6 separate regions of the Homo sapiens genome follow, and regions 1, 2, 3, 4 and 5 are each linked to region 6. Evidence: promoter capture Hi-C in 16 types of primary human blood cells and fetal thymus (Javierre and others, 2016). All regions are on one chromosome and are shown on one strand. Each heading gives the region's core, a stretch centred on a gene start or on the middle of the fragment in contact. The rest is flanking DNA. Distances are from core to core; before and after follow the strand shown.

What was found. The method cuts DNA at HindIII sites, captures the fragments that hold promoters and counts their contacts. A CHiCAGO score of 5 or more calls a contact.
Region 1: a contact is called between a fragment that was not itself captured here and the fragment with the promoter of KRR1 in region 6, in 2 of 17 cell types (total B cells and naive B cells). The highest score is 9.9, in total B cells.
Region 2: a contact is called between a fragment that was not itself captured here and the fragment with the promoter of KRR1 in region 6, in 4 of 17 cell types (total CD4 T cells, naive B cells, non-activated CD4 T cells and 1 more). The highest score is 7.4, in total CD4 T cells.
Region 3: a fragment that was not itself captured here is called in contact with the fragment with the promoter of KRR1 in region 6 in 3 of 17 cell types (naive B cells, total B cells and non-activated CD4 T cells); the score reaches 7.5 in naive B cells.
Region 4: a contact is called between a fragment that was not itself captured here and the fragment with the promoter of KRR1 in region 6, in 1 of 17 cell types (total CD4 T cells). The highest score is 6.5, in total CD4 T cells.
Region 5: a contact is called between a fragment that was not itself captured here and the fragment with the promoter of KRR1 in region 6, in 1 of 17 cell types (total B cells). The highest score is 6.5, in total B cells.

What each region holds. Positions count from the first base shown.
Region 1 is chr12:76,511,980-76,514,684 of GRCh38, forward strand. The region is part of intron 1 of OSBPL8 (oxysterol binding protein like 8); the gene reads right to left. Among named protein-coding and RNA genes, the nearest start is that of OSBPL8, 46 kb to the right of the region's middle. The HindIII fragment of the contact is 3,113 bases long and covers 1-2,705 here.
Region 2 is chr12:76,590,774-76,593,473 of GRCh38, forward strand. The region is part of intron 3 of LOC105369850 (a long non-coding RNA gene); the gene reads left to right. Among named protein-coding and RNA genes, the nearest start is that of OSBPL8, 32 kb to the left of the region's middle. The HindIII fragment of the contact is 1,394 bases long and covers 678-2,071 here.
Region 3 is chr12:76,767,920-76,770,619 of GRCh38, forward strand. All of the region lies in intron 1 of ZDHHC17 (zDHHC palmitoyltransferase 17), which reads left to right. Among named protein-coding and RNA genes, the nearest start is that of ZDHHC17, 5.2 kb to the left of the region's middle. The HindIII fragment of the contact is 630 bases long and covers 1,132-1,761 here.
Region 4 is chr12:76,535,487-76,538,186 of GRCh38, forward strand. All of the region lies in intron 1 of OSBPL8 (oxysterol binding protein like 8), which reads right to left. Among named protein-coding and RNA genes, the nearest start is that of OSBPL8, 23 kb to the right of the region's middle. The HindIII fragment of the contact is 6,225 bases long and covers 1-2,700 here.
Region 5 is chr12:76,607,035-76,609,734 of GRCh38, forward strand. All of the region lies in intron 3 of LOC105369850 (a long non-coding RNA gene), which reads left to right. Among named protein-coding and RNA genes, the nearest start is that of OSBPL8, 49 kb to the left of the region's middle. RefSeq lists an enhancer at 844-2,043. The HindIII fragment of the contact is 2,351 bases long and covers 96-2,446 here.
Region 6 is chr12:75,510,224-75,512,923 of GRCh38, forward strand. It overlaps KRR1 (KRR1 small subunit processome component), which reads right to left and starts at 1,386. Exons shown (of 10, transcript NM_007043.7): 1 at 1,290-1,386. The coding sequence starts at 1,374. RefSeq lists enhancers at 599-1,143, 1,144-1,687, 1,194-1,353. The HindIII fragment of the contact is 5,214 bases long and covers 1-2,700 here.

The DNA of each region.
Region 1 (2,705 bases), core at 49-2,548, 1.0 Mb after region 6:
TTTTATTTTGGGTTTGCTGGTACATGTGAAGGTTTGTTACATAGATAAACACATGTCATGGGGGTTCGTTGAACATATTATTACATCACCCAGGTATTAAGCTCAGTACCCAATAGTTATCTTTTCTGCTCCTCTACCTCATATAACCCTCCCCGCTCAAGTAGACCCCAGTGTCTGTTGTTTCCTTCTTTATGTTCACAAGTTCTTATCCTTTAACTCCCACTTATAAGAGAGAACATGCAGTATCTGTTTTTCTGTTCCTGAGTTAGTTTGCTAAAGAAGAGAGCCTCCAGCTCCACCCATGTTCTCACAAAAGACATGATCTAGTTCTTTTTTATGGCTGTATAATATTCCATGGTGTATATGTACATTTTCTTTTTTCAGTCTGTCACTGATGGGCATTTAGGTTGATTCCATATCTTTGTTACTGTGAACAGCCCAGCACAATTTATTGAATATAAAGTCTTTTTCCCATTGCTTGTTTTTGTCAGCTTTGTCAAAGACCAGATGGTTGTAGGTATGCAGCCTTATTTCTGGGCTCTCTATTCTGTTCCATTTGTCTATGTGTCTGTTTTTCTACAGGTTCCATACTGTTTTTGTTACTGTAACCCTGTAGCGTAGTTTGAAGTCAGGTAACGTGATGCCTCCAGCTTTGTTCTTTTTGCTTAGGATAGCTTTGGCTGCTGGGCTCTTTTTTGGTTCCACATGAATTTTAAAATAGTTTTTTTCTAGTTCTGTGAAGAATACTGATAGTAGTTTGATAGCAACAGCAATGAATCTGTAAATTGCTTTGGGCAGTATGGCCATTTCAATGATATTGATTCTTCCTATCCATGAGCATGGGAGGTTTTTCCATTTGTCTGCATCTTTTCTGATTTCTTTGAGCAGTGTTTTATAATTCTCATTATACAGATCTTTCACCTCCCCAGTTAGCTATATTCCTAGGTATCTTTTTTCTTTTTGTGGCAATTGTGAATGACACTGATGTGGCTCTTGGCTTGGCTGTTTTTGGTGTATAGGAATGCCACTGATATTTGTATATTGGTTTTGCATCCTTAAACTTTGCTGAACTTACCCAAAAGTCATTCAGCAGCATGCTGTTTAATTTTCATGTAATTGCATGGTTTTGAGGATTTTCTTAGTCTTGACTTCTATTTATATTGCACTGTGGTCCAAGAGCATGTTTGGTATGATTTTGGTTCGTTTGCATTTGCTGAGGATTGTTTTATATCCAATTATGTGATTGCTTTCAGAATTTTGAGGATTTTCTTAGTCTTGACTTCTATTTGTATTGCACTGTGGTCCAAGAGCGTGTTTGGTATGATTTTGGTTCGTTTGCATTTGCTAAGGATTGTTTTATATCCAATTATGTGATTGCTTTCGGAGTATGTTCCATGTGGAGATAAGAAGAATGTATATTCAGTTGTTTTAAGGTGGAAAGTTCCATAGAGGCCTGTCAGATCCATTTGATCTAATGTTGAGTTCAGGTCCTGAATATCTTTAACTTTCTGCCTTGATGACTTGTCTAATACTGTCAGTGGAGTGTTGAAGTCTCCCACTATTATCGTGCGGGAGTTTACATCTTTTTGTAGATTTCTAAGAACTTGCTTGATAAATCTGGGTGCTCCTGTGTTGGGTGCATATAAATTTAGGATAGTTAGGTCTTGCTCGATTGAACCCTTTACTAGTAATGCCCTTCTTTTTTTTTTTAATCTTTGTTGGTTTGAAGTCTGTTTTGTCTGAAATTAGGATTCTAACCCCTGGGTTTTTTTTTTTTTTTTTTTCCGGTTTTCTGTTTGTTTGGTAGATTCTCCTCCATCCCTTTATTTTGAGCCTATGAGTGTCATTACATGTGAGGTGAGTCTTTTGAAGACAGCATAGCACTGGGTCTTGCTTTTTTATCCAGTTTGTTGCTCTGTGCCTTTTAAGTGGGGCACTGAAGGTTAGTATTAATATGTGTGGATTTGATCCTGTCATTGTGTTGTTGGCTGGTTATTATGTTGGCTTGTTTGTGTGGTTGTCTTATAGTGTCACTAGTCTGTGTGTTTAAGTGTGTTTTTGTATTAGCTGGTAGTGGTCTTTCCTTTCTATATTTAGTGCTCCTTTCAAGATCTCTTGTAAGGCAGGCCTGGTGGTTAACAAATACCCTCAACATTTGCTTGTCTGAAAAGGATCTTTTTTTTGAGATAGAGTCTCACTGTTTCACCCAGGCCGGGCTGCAGTGGCGCGATCTCAGCTCACTGCAACCTCCGCCTCCCGGGTTCAAGCGATTCTCCTGCCTTAGCCTCCCAAGTAGCTGGGGCTACAGCTGCCTGCCACCACGCCCAGCTAATTTTTTTTTTTTTTGTATTTTTAGTAGAGACAGGTTTCACCATATTGGCCAGGCTGGTCTTGAACTCCTGACCTTGTGATCTACCCGCTTCAGCCTCCCAAAGTGCTGGGATTACAAGCATGAGCCGGCTAGAAATGAAATTCTTTGTTGAACAATTTTTTCTTTAAGTATGTTGTAGGCCCTCCTCAATCTCTTCTGGCTTGTAGGGTTTCAGCTGAGAGATCTGCTGTTAGCCTGATGGGGTTGCCTTTGCAGATGACCTACCTTTAACATTTTTTCTTTCATTTCAATCTTGGAAAATCTGATGATTATGTGTCTTGGGGATGATCTTCTTGTATAGAGTCTTTCAGGAGTTCTCTGCATTTCCTGAATT
Region 2 (2,700 bases), core at 125-2,624, 1.1 Mb after region 6:
GGTAGAATGCTACTGTAATAAATATGTAAAAATATGTCTGTGGCTTTGAAACTGATCAGTGGACAGAGACTAGAAGAATGCTTGAAAAGTATGATAGACAAATCCCAAATCACTGCGAACAAACTCTCAGTAGAAATGTGGATATTGAAGACTGCTGTTGAGGACTCAGAAGGAAGTAAGGAACATGCTATAGGAAACTGGAAGAAGGGAGATCCTTGTTATGTACTGGCGTAAAGCTTAGTGAAATTATTTCTTGCAATTACGTTGAAAGCAGAACTTGTAAATGGATGAATTTGGTTATATAGTTAAGGAGATTTCCAAGCAAAGTGTTGAAGGGGACAACTGGTTTCTTCTTGCTACTTACAGGAAAATTCAAGAAAAGAGACAAATTGAGAGAAGAACTATTAAGCAAAAAGGAATCAGGACTTGATAATTTAAAAAATCCTCATCTTCCCCAGATGGCAAAAAATATTAACAGTTGGAGATGGCTTTTGGGCACTGTCAGAAAAGCCTACTCTAGAGAAAATGCACTTGAAGTTACTCTATAATCTTTTTTAAAGCCCCCAAAAGATCAAAGGTCAGAGTACTCAGGGGTATTTCAAGATACGGCCCTTAGATTTGAAAAGATCTAAGGGTATGCCTCAGATCCTCTCAATCACACTATTGAGCCTCTAGGAAGCTTAAAGGAGATGGAATTATTTTTGAAACAATCTGTAGATGTGGCCTTTGTCTGATAAGAGTGAATGCCACTGAAATACAGAAAGAACCACAACATTCTTGAGAAAATTATTTCTGCAGAAACAGTGCCAACTTGGAATAAGACAGACAGAAAGACTAGAAAATGAAAAGAGGCTGTCAGACCTCCAAAATTTTACTGGCAGAAAGCAGGCTGATAAAACTACTCATCTGCAAACACATGCTACCTTCCATGAAAAAGGAAGAATGACTCAGATGGTGGAACCAAGAACCCAGAAAGCAGAGCCAAGAGCCATGAAGAATCATTCCCAAGCCTAGAAACTTAATTAAGGAACTTCCAATAAATCCAGTTGTATTTCAAAACTGCTATAGACTAGTGACTCCTTTTTACTACCCATTTCCCCTATTTTTAAACTGGAATGTCTATAGCTATTATCCTGTGTCTGTCCCACCATTGTATGTTGGGTGTGTTGGAGGCAGATAACTCATTTCCTTGGTTTCAGAGGTCCATAGTTAGAGAATAATTGTGTCCAGGAGCTTTACTTAACAGGTTATACGTAGGAGGCTCATCTGCACCTGGACTTGATTCACATGATGAAATTTTAGAATTTGAGCTGATGCTATAATGAATGAAACTCTTGGGAACTGATATGGTTTGTCTCTGTGTCCCCACCCAAATCTCATCTTGAATTGTACTCCCACAATTCCCATGGGTTGTGGGAGGGGCCCTGGTGGGAGATAATTTGAATTATGGGGGAGGTTCCCCCATACTGTTCTCATGGTAGCAAATAAGTCTCACGATATCTGATGGTTTTATCAGGGGTTTTATCAGGGGTTTCCACTTCTGCATCTTCTTCATTTTCTCTTGCCGCCGCCATGTAAGAAGTACCTTTCACCTCTCAGCATGATTCTGAGGCCTCCCCAGCCATGTAAGTCCAATTAAACCTCTTTTTCTTCCCAGTCTCAGGTATGTCTTTATCAGCAGTGTGAAAACGGACTAATACAGGAACCTTGGAAGGGGAGAAACCATATATTTCATATGGGAGGGCCTGAGGAAAGACTGGCAGACAGAACCTAGGCTGATTCTCCAATGACCCCCACTTTCTGATATCAATGCCCCTGTTAATTACATCCCATGAATATGGGAGGAATCTGTGAAGCATCTAACTTATAGAATATGGCAAAGGTGACAGAATGGCATTCCTATGATAACATTATGTTATGTAAGACTTCATATTGCTAGTAGACTCTTCTGCTGGCCATGAAGAAGCAAACTGCTATGTTGCTGCCTATGGAGTAGACCACATGGCAGGCAACTTGAATGGACTCTAGGAGCTAATGGCATCCTCCAGCTGACAGCCAACCAGCACACTGAAGCTTTCAGTCCTATATCCTCAATGAAATAAATTCGTTCGGCAAACCATATGAGCTTGGGAGCAGATGAGCTTCCCAATGAGAACACAGCCCACCTGATGCATTGACTCTAGCCTGGAGAGACCTGGAAGCAGAAAATCCAAATAAGCTGTGTCTGTACTCTTGACCACAGAAACTGGGATATAATACATGTTATTGTTTTAGGCTGCTAGATTTGGTAACTTGTTATCCAGCAATAGATTACAAGTGCAGTCAAAGATTGTCCCAGAGAGTGTTAACTTCTTTACTCTTCCAGGTTGTACATGCCTAAGCGCAGAGTGGGTTCTCATTGGCATCCATGCCATATCATCAGAGCAGCACAGGTTTTGAAATGATAAATATGTGGTACAGTTGCACAAAACTGGTTGCCATAGCAATAGTTGGTATAAAAGGTAGGCTGAAAGGATGTGAAAAAGATTATTCTAGTTTGTCTCATCCTGGCTACCATTTCAGGGAGTCTGTGTTGCTTGACTGGGTGGGGGCAACCAGATCATCATCTCTGAAGGGTCTGAACTCTAATTCTTGCTCTTCAGTGAGTCTTAATTATTACAATTACCCATTTATACTTATCACCAGACATGGAGCACGAAG
Region 3 (2,700 bases), core at 197-2,696, 1.3 Mb after region 6:
AAAATCCAAAGCTGTGGTGACAAACTGAAAATGTAGCTTCTGCAGCTTACTGTTATCATGGTCAAAGTACATTTTTCTCATTTGTAAAGTTGGGTTAATAGTGACACCTTTTACAGTTATTGTGAATATTAACTAGGCTAATGTTTATAAAGCAGTTTTCATAGACCTAGGCACATAGGCTGCCAAGCAAATTGTACCTTCTGAAGGCCCTGGCATATAGTGAATACTGAAAGGGAAGCTGCTGTTACTTTGTTTTCTTTTGAAATAGGTGATTATTTGTTTTATTGAAATGAAAGAAATTAAAGGCTCTTTGGATAAAGAAGAACTGATGATCAAGGGATTAGGGTACTAGTTCTAGCTCAGTGACCTTGAGCTAGTAGGTATTTAACTGGTCTCAGTTTTGTTGCTTTTAAGATAAAGTAGCTAGACTAGATGACCTCTAAGATTTCTTCAGACTCAAGTGTTCTGGTTTTAAATTGTGATTTTTCAATATAATCAACTTGAGCATCTGTCTACTAGGTACGTAGCATTGTGTTAGGTTATATGGGTTAAAATAACATAAAAAAGATAGCATATGTTTTCCAGAAGGTAAATAACTAGTTGGGAAGTTGTAGGCACGTGAAACACTGGACGATTCAAATAAGTACTGAATTAAGTAATGTAGCTTGTAAGTGGTGTCAGATTCCTGTCATTTAGAGTGGTTAGAAGAAAGGCTTCCGTAGAGGGACAGAGACCATATGTTGGTCTACTGGTCCAGCAGACTAGCCATGACCAGCTTCCATTTTACCTACTAGTACATCCTCAGTAAGTCATCTCAGCTCTTTGATAGAATGAGATCACAATATCCCCTTCTGCCACAGTATCACAGGGGCTATTTCAGAACCATCTGACTCAGAGCTTTGAACTGGATTGCCTAGATTATCTAGGGCTTTCATCTCTTTCTTTCTTCCTTTTTTCTCTATTTCAAAACTTCTGCTATTGCCTTTTTTTCTCATTTTCGTCTCTCTTTTTATGGTAACGTTTTTTATTTCACATTCATTTTATTATTTCTGATGATTTCTGTTTGAATATTAAATCAAACTATTGCTATTATCTACTGTCCTCACAGATTTCATAAAATCTACTTTTTGAAGCTTTTGGTTTTTTGCTTTAGTTTGAGATGGAGTTGCGCTCTTGTTGCCCAGGCTGAAGTGCAATGACGTGATCTCGGCTTACTGCAACCTCAGCCTCCTGCGTTCAAGCGATTCTCCTGCATCAGCCTCCCGAGTAGCTGGGATTACAGGTGCCTGCCACCACACGTGGCTAATTTTTTGTATTTCTAGTAGAGATGGGGTTTCACCATGTTGGCCAGGCTGGTCTGGAACGCCTGACCTCAGGTGATCCACCCGCCTCGGCCTCCCAAACTGCTGGGGTTACAGGCATGAGCCACCATGCTCGGCCATGAAGCTGTTCTTTAGTGAAAAGAATTTTGCCATTTTCTATTACTTTTTGCCCTATTATGTATATATTATATGTGTGTGTGTATATATATGTATTTGTACACATATAAGGTAATTCATTTGCTTTCAGAAAGCAGATACAAAATGACTTTGAAAGTTGTTTTTCTTCCCATAGGTTACCTGCAACTCTTTTCCTTCAAAGCACTTCTTTATGCAGTCACTAGGATTTGATGCCTTTTAAAAAATTCAGCAAAAATGTTATAGGTCATATAATAATAATCTAGATTTTAAAATAATGTATATTTTAAAATACTATATATTAAGCTTAGTAACTACTATGCTTAGTATAGTGACCACTGTTAAGCCCAGTAACCACTGAGCATTACTATTAAGCTTAGTAATCACTGAGTCAATAGATATAAAATTAAAATGTGATTAATTGGTGAGACTTCATGGATTGTGCTCAAAGCCAGAGTTGAAAATTACTGACCAAAAAATTGTTCTGGTTTTGAGAAATGTCATTTTCCTGATTCGGCTTGTTTTATTTTGTTCATTATTTTTATTTAATTTGGGAGGATCTCAAAAGTATTTATTAAGAGTGGACTGTGGAGTTGGTGGATATAAGAGTATATAGGTTAAAAGTGAGCAATGGTGTTAGGATTCAAATCTCAATTCTGCTCACTAGCTTGCAATCCTGGGCACGTTATTGAACTCTGCATCCCAATTTTCCAAACTAAAATGGGGGTATAATAACACCTACTTTATGAGGCTGTTGTGAGGATTAAGTGAGATAATACATGTGAAGTTCTGTGTCTGGCACTTAGTAAACAACAATAAGTGTTGGCTATTAATATTGTGGTAAAAAGTAGTACCTCAAATTGATAAACAATTGTAGTATGCATATATTAGAGTGGCTAAAATAATTAGTATTGGTTGTCTCTGGGGATTGAAGAGAAGATGGGCAGAGGACTTCTTATTATAAGCCCTTTTGCCCTATTTGATGTTTTTAAAGACGTGTGCTTTGCTACAAGGGAGTGTTTATTGAGAATCCAAGTATGGTCTTGACCCTTTGCTAGGCTCCGAAGTAATAACATTTACAAAATAACACATTGTAAAATGATGTAAGATTAACTGTAGACCTTCAGATACCTCAGGATAGATGAGGGAGAGTGTGTCTGTGTGTATTTTTTAAAATTAGAAATGATTCGTGGTCCTCCTTTCCTCCTAGAGAGGGTTGTAAGGGTATGTTAAGGTAGTCAGC
Region 4 (2,700 bases), core at 102-2,601, 1.0 Mb after region 6:
AACTCTCATACATTGCTGGTGAGATGCAAAATGGTACAGCTACTCTTAAGTATTTACCAAAGAAAAATGGAAACATGTCCACTCAAAAATTTGTACATGGATGTTCACAGTAGCTTCATTTACAATAACCGAAAATTACAAACAAGTCAAATGTCTATCAAAAGGTGAATGGATAAACAAATTGGATATTCATTACAATACTGTAATAGTATTCCTATACCATGGAATACTATCCCAAAATAAAAAGGAATAATCTCAAAAATATGCAGGGCAAAATAAACCAGACAAGAGTACATACTCTATGATTCCGTTCATATGAAATCTTAGAACAGACAAAAGCAATCCACAGTAACAGAACCCGAATCAGTCATTGTCTGACATAGAGTAGGAAAGGGAAAGATTAAGTTCAAAGGGCACAAGAGAATTTTGGGGACTGATGGAAAGTTCTATATCTGTATCTATTGTGGTAGCAGTAACATGGGTGTATACATCTGTCAAAATGAATCAAACTATGTACTTAAAATGGTTTCATTTTATTCAGGTGTAAATTATACCTGAATAAAGTAGTTTGGGTTTTTTTTAGTATTTTTTTTAAGTGATATTGGGGGGGTGTGAGGTGGAAAGCAGGAAAGACTACAGAAGTAGCGAAAGGCAAAATGATGCTGTTTAAGTAACAATGTTTAAAATCAGAAAAAATGTAAAAAATCTAGCACAACTAGGCCTGGTGTGGTGGCTCACACTTGTAATCCTAGCGCTTTGGGAAGGCGAGTCGGGCAGATCACCTGAGGTCAAAAGTTAGAGACCTGCCTGGCCAACATGGTGAAACTAAAAATACCAAATACTAAATACTAAAATACTAAATATTAAATACTAAAAATACCAAAAAAAAAATCAAGCCCAACTAAAACCAAGAGTGTAACTGAGATAATTAATTTTGTCTGTAAAAATGGGAATAACTCACAGGATAGCTGTAAAAAATAGATGAGATAGTTAATCTTATCACTGTACTACTTAACACTATGTATGCTGGTAAATTACAGCAACACAATTCATATTAGTTGAATTTGTATCTACCCATGGTAAGTGTTAAGGTGAAGCAAAGAAAATAAGTAAAAGTAACATGGAATAAATCCTGAAAGAATTTCTAGAGGAAATTATCTTAAGATGCCACTTTTGAAAAGAGAAAAGGAAATGGGTGGAAAGGAAGGAGAGACCTACAGGTGGAGGGAATGGTAATGTGCAGAAGAACGGAGGCGGAAAGGAGCAAGTCATATGTATGAGATGGCAAAATTAGCATGCCTGTGGCAGCAAATCCATATATAGGAGTATCAAAAAAAAAAAAAAAAAAACGAGTAATCTTCCCATCTGACGCGAACACTCATTTAAATGTTACAGTAGGACCCAGAAATGTAACTTCATCCAGTGGATGCTATGATACATGATAAATATATTCAACCATTTAAAACAGAGAAAAATAAAAAGTTCTATCTTTGTGTTTAAAAAATGAGAATGCTTACAATTACCAGCTTCAGTCTCTTGGAGGTTAGCCACAGTTCTTCCCAAAAGAAAAAAAAATTATAATTATTAAAATATAATTATAGCTAAGCAACATATGGACTTGCTGTGCAGCTGTCCCTGTGCTTCTGAAACTATGAAAGCCTTTACATTTTGCAAAGTCTGATTTCTATAAATGACTGGTATTTGGAAAATAAGATACAAGAAAATCTGCCCAAGTAACTAATCAGCTACAACAAGAATTATTTCATAGCATACTACTTAAAAGGTATCAAGACACTAAAATTGTATTTCAACAGACATAGTATGACCAAGATCAGGATTCCTGGGCATTTATAACTTTAAACTGTTTTTACATTTATACATTTAAACGTGTTTAATTAAAGAATGCAGGGTTACCACTGTTATGATGTGCAAACTAACTTAAATCTTAAGATTTTGCTTATAGAACAGTGTTTCATATACAGAAAAGTATTATTTTCAATGTCTTATCACTGAGAAGAGATAACAAAGATAATAGTTATAGTAATAACTTGAGCAAATTAAGTTCTCTGAATGAGAGAAATCTACAGAAATGTACGATGAGAGAGATTCACAATGAGAAATAAAATATTAAAGGACAACAGGCCAGGCACGGTGGCTCACACCTGTAATCCCAACACTTTGGGAGGCTGAGGCAGGTGGATAACTTAAGGTCAGGAGTTCAAGACCAGCCTGGTTAACATGGTAAAACCCCGTCTCCACTAAAGATAGAAAAATTAGCTGGGCATGGTGGTGGGTGCCTGTAATCCCAGCTACTCAGGAGGCTGAGGCATGAGAATCACTTGATCCCAGGAAGCAGAGGTTGCAGTGAGCTGAGATCGTGCCACTGCACTCCAGCCTGGGCAACAGAGCAAGACTCCATGTCTAAAAAATAAATAAATAAAATAAAATAAATAAAGACAGTAATACTGACCTTTAAACGCAGTAGCACCAATGGAGATTGCTGAGGACAACAAAGTTACAGGGTTAAATTAATTTAAGTCTCTTTATTGAGAAAGGCTGTTATATAGTGGCAGTCAGCTAACTAACAAGGTTTTATCTGCTCCATCTACATCAAGGCCATACCAATTAGAGACCTTGACTCAGAGTAGAGAATGTAGAGGTTAAAGAATAACCTTAACGACTTTTGCTTTTTGAACCCAT
Region 5 (2,700 bases), core at 21-2,520, 1.1 Mb after region 6:
CCTGCAGTGGAGGGCTGATGGAGGGTATAGGAACCATTGCCCTCCTTGCCCAAACTAAGATGTCCCATAGAAAGATTCACCTGAAGACTTTAAAAAGCTTGTTAGAGCCTGTCTGGAATCAACCAAAACTCAGTTTCAAAGGCCCTTATCTCTCAAATATTAGCATGGTGGACTCTCCTTTGGTTTATCGTTTTACCCATGTATCACCTTTCCAAAGAGGCTTCCTTGATTGCTCACGATGGTTAACCTAGCACCCTTTTCACTCTCTCTTTTTATACTATTTTTTATTTTCCTTTATATTGATTATCACCACATGACACAATTTCATGTATTTGTTTGTTTATTTGCCATCTCTCCTCCTAGAATGTAATCTCCAGAAATGCTGAGAGTTTGTCTATTTCACTGATCACTGTATGCCAAGCACCAGGCAATAGCATGAGATTAATACATATTTGTTGATTGAATGAATGAATGGCCATTTTCTTGGGCAATCAAAATTTCTCCCATTCTTTGTATTCTGCTAGAAATTCCAAACTCTCCAGGTATGGAAAAGCTAGGCAACAGCAACTTTTTACTGAATGTTTCCTAAATGACTTTTATTTCATATTTTTGAAATTAAGAAAATAGATTACTATAATAAGTAGAAGAAAATAGATCACTCAGGTAAAAATTAAATATACATGCTCAAACCTTGGTAAATTGAAAAATGCCTCTTCTCTCTTGATTCCCCTCCTTTCATTCCCCCAATAAAGCAAGAAAAGATCATTGCTTCTTAGTGTTTATTAGCTTGAAACACTTTTAACTTTTTTAGTGAAGAGTTCACGTGGGTCAGAATGACACATAAGCATGTGAGCCTTTCTTCCAAATCAATCAGTTGAAATGGGAACATGAATTTATTTGAGTGAGGCTATAAATACTGCCTTGAAAACGCCAACCATCACAAATAAGTACTGATAATAAACCTGAAATATACTGATACAGAGTGATGCAGGATTTTTTGCTCCCTAATTCAGCTAAAATCCAGGTTCTTGTCACATGACCACGAAAAATTAAGCATGTGGACACATTGAAAGGTGAGGAGAGTGAAATTTATTAAAAGAAAGCTCTCAGTGAAGAAAAGGGGGCCTGCCAACAGGCTCCCAACTGACAGACTGAATGCCCGGCCAGCACACACGAGGTGAAGAGGCTAGGCTCCTCTGCCGTGCTCAAGGTGCGAATTCCCGGTGGCTCCACCCCACTCTCCCAGTGCGCGGGCGGTCCCCCAGTCAGATGTGGGCATGCCCAGACAAGGCCCTGGGCAGGTTCTCTCATATGCACGAAAAGCATCTGATGTAAACACTTGTGGGGTGAGTTGGAGATTCTCTGAGTACCCTCCCTCATCTGCCTCCTGAATCTATCAAGAGTACATTATATTTCCGATGGAATAGGGTGACTTTATTCATGAAAGGCATAAATGCAGTCAACTAAGGTAGAATCATTTTTTAAAGAATCTGCTTATTAATTAGAGAGGCATCCATAGAACATCTTTTGGACCAAGTCTTCTGATTTGCTAGGAAATGTCCTCTTTCTCTGTGTTCTGGGAATTTGGAGCTCACCTCCTCAATCCATATGAAGATACAGTCTTCCTCAACTGTGACACTCTTCTCTCCTCTTAGGGATAGACATTCATTCTAGGGACATGCTGGGGACCAAACTGGGCCAATGAGACTCCTTCCTTTGAGATTTGGAATTGAGACCAAAGATTTCAACTCTTTCAAACATAGGAGATATAATCTAGTGTGGGAGTTGTTGATGGTTAATACTTTCTGCTCCATGTCCCGAAAAACAGGGAGAGACAGTGTGCAGAGACTGAAGAATGAAGGAGACTTGGAGGGGAAGCTGAGGCCTGCGAAGGAGGGCCTCTTGGTTTCCTGATGGTGTGTGGGGCCTTGCTTCCAGCTGGCCATTGAAGTCCTGCTGTATCTCTGTCCTTGGGTTCTGTGAGGCAAACTCATTACTTATTATAAATCCCCCATTCCCCACCAGTCTAGCTCATTTGGGTCTTGAAGACTAAACACTGACTTTTTTTTTCTTATATTGCCCAAATTCCTACCTAAGGGGCCTGGGGGAGACACACCCTGCAAACCATAAAGTCTCATCAGAGAGGTTTTATTTAACCCTCTATAATCTGACCTTCTTTCTCACCTGACTCTGGCATAACATCACATAACAAGGAAATAAATCAAAATATTTTAAAACCCAAGTGTATTTCCTTGTCATATTCTTGAAATGGCCCTGCAAAGTTGTCTCTTTTGGGAAAAATCCACATTCTGTAGAGAACCGCCTTTCCCTGCCCTTTTTTTTTTCTTTCCAGATCCAGGAGATAATCAACTAAGAGTCAGGCATCCTTTTAAATCCGATAAGAAAACATTGTACAGCCTCTTCTCTCTGAAGCCTGCTAGCTAAAAGCTTCCTCTACACAATAAAACTTTGGTCTCTGGCCAGACGCAGTGGCTCACGCCTGTAATCCCAACACTTTGGGAGGCCGAGGCAGGTGGATCACGAGGTCAGGAGATGGAGACCATCCTGGCTAACACGGTGAAACCCCGTCTCTACTAAAAATACAAAAAAAATTAGCCAGGCGTGGTGGCGGGCGCCTGTAGTCCCAGCTACTCAGGAGGCTGAGGCAGGAGAATGGCGTGAACCCAGGAGGTGGAGCTT
Region 6 (2,700 bases), core at 136-2,635:
AAAAAAGTTAGCATTACTTACACACACCCTACACTTCAGTGATTCCAATCCTATGTTCACAACCTAGAGAAACCCTTGAACATGTTAACCAGAAGACATGTACAAAGATGTTTTAGCAGTATTGTTTATAATTGCAAGCAATTGGGAACAATCCAAATGTCCACCGATAGTAAAATGAAAAAATAAATTGGGGTATATTCATACAAGGAAACACCACATAACAGTGAAAAGACTAAAACTACACCCGCAAGTATCACCCTGTTTGAAAAACAAAAAGCTAAATCTAAGAAGACACAGAAAAATGCATACGGTCCACTTTCATGTATATAAAATTAAAAAACAGGCTAAATTAAGCCACTTCATGACTACAAGAAGAGGAACAGAATGCAACACAATTCAGGGTGGTTACGTCTGATACAGGAAAAGAGAATATGATCTGAGAGGTGCACGTAAGGGTTTGAGGGGTATGGTAATGCTCTATTTTACTTAGTCTGAATGCTAGTTTCCCGCATGGTTTTATTAAACTCTATATAAGTTGTATCCCCTGCTATGTACGTTACATAATCATTTAATGAGCAACAACAAAGAAACTTTGAATACTTTCCCAATGCATCTAAATTGAGAGTTCAATGTTTTTAACACTTCCTATAAGCCTGGTTGAACAGATCCCCAGGCTATTTATGACTTCTCTATCATTCACACTGAAGAAAACGGGTAAAACCAGACTACAACGCAGGAGTTAACAATTAAAAGGTAACACAACCTAAACAGTAAGGGCTGTGTCGTCTAATATTTTAGCATCTGACAAACAGGAATTGATAATCTTTCAAAATGTCTTTACTGACAAACTAGAGCTAAGGACATGTCGGATAGCTCCTTTCCCCATACCTCACCCCATTATCAGGGTCCACTCTTGTATATCATGACTACCTATTCCCACCTCACCCTATTCCTCATTCCGTCAGTGACTTTCAGCCACCCGCAGGCTTACAAGGTTCTGCGTCGCCCTAGGCATTTTCTTAATACTCATCCTTTTACAAAAGACGTAATCCGCAACAGCTTCGCTTTGGGGACCCTTTAGCAAAAGCAATGAATTAGGAACACCTGGGTGGCACCATATCGGCCAGCCGTTCCTGTGGGCCCAGCCAAAATCTTATCAGCGATTATTCAGGTACTCAACTACACAGTACAGGCTCCAGGTGGTTTTATAAGTCCACGAGGAACGAAAGAAAAAAACATCGCAACTCAACGTACACAAACCCCAGGCTTCGGTTCCCACATAACATCACCTTGGTTCTCCGGCTTCGGCTTCTGGTTACGAAATTCACTTTTTCCAGCGCCTTTTTCTGGCCGCTCCAGCGAGGGAGACGCCATTTGCAAGCTGCTTCCGGTGGCTCCGGAAATGAAACTGTTCTTAAACCCTACCGGCTAAAACGCCTACACTCAAAATGAGTTCCGCGGAACTCAGACGAGGAGATCTGCGCAGTCTCCGTGCGTACGTGCGTTAAGCCCGCGCTTTTACACAAACCACAGCTTCTCCTACGTGGCCAATGAAGAGCCGGAGACTTTCTCCCAGTATGCCCTGAAACCATGGAGTTTGCGTACTGGGACTTGTAGTTTAGCAGGCGGTATAGGCAAATTGGATACTGTTTTATCCGTAGTTTCCTCGTGGCCTCACGGCCTAACCTGGACCATCGGACAGCGGAGTGCTACCAACCTGTCATTGATGTCATTCATTCTTTCGATAAATATTTATATGTTGGCCAAATATGCGCTAGATGTTGGGAGGAAGTACAAATATGAGAATACAATGTATATTGGGCCTCCACTGCAACAAGTGACAGGAATAGCTACTATTTATTGTGAGACTACTTTGTTTCAGTACTTTATTTACATTATTTCTAATTTTAAAAACAGTGACAAAATTAAACTTTTCAAAGTTGTTTCTGATGGTAATCTTCCCGAGTGTTGGTATTTCTCTAAGTCAGAGGGATGGTAATTCAACATCCTGACGTTTCTGAAGTATTTCAACTAGCCTAAGATTTCTCAAAATCTCTAAACTCCTTTTCTACCCCCAACATTACATAGGGCTAAGATGTGTAGAGAGGTTCATCACTAACTACAAATAACTACACTTTTGGAAGTATAAGAGTTCTTCGACATGCCAAATATAAGATTTTTTTAAATTTTGATTTTATTGCTTGCATTTCTAAAATTTTCTGCAGCAAATAGGGAAAGTCTTTGATAGGTTAAATTCCTTGCATTAGTGAAATACACGTTTGTCTGATAAATCCACTCTCGTGTATCTTATACAATAATTTAGGTTTTCATATATGAGATCCAGGTATGAAACAGATTGTTACATATGGACAGAAGAACCCACGACAGAGGGGTTTTTTGTTTTTATCCTGTGAGTTTTATAAATGACAGGGATTTTATCTCTGTTCTTTTAATTTCCTCAAAAAATGATAAATTCCTAAAATAGAACAGATAGCAGCAGGTGAAAGTTATAAAGTGAGGAGTACACCTCATGAAGCAGGTTTTTATCATTCTTATTTTAAGTAACTCAATCACTAATAAGTGGAAGGCCCGTCTTCAAGTTCAGGCAGTTTGACCTAGCAGCTTCAGGGGGCTACTATTCATTAGGAGCTTCAAATGTGTTAGAGGGCTGATAGGGATTAAGGGGAGGGAATAGTCTAG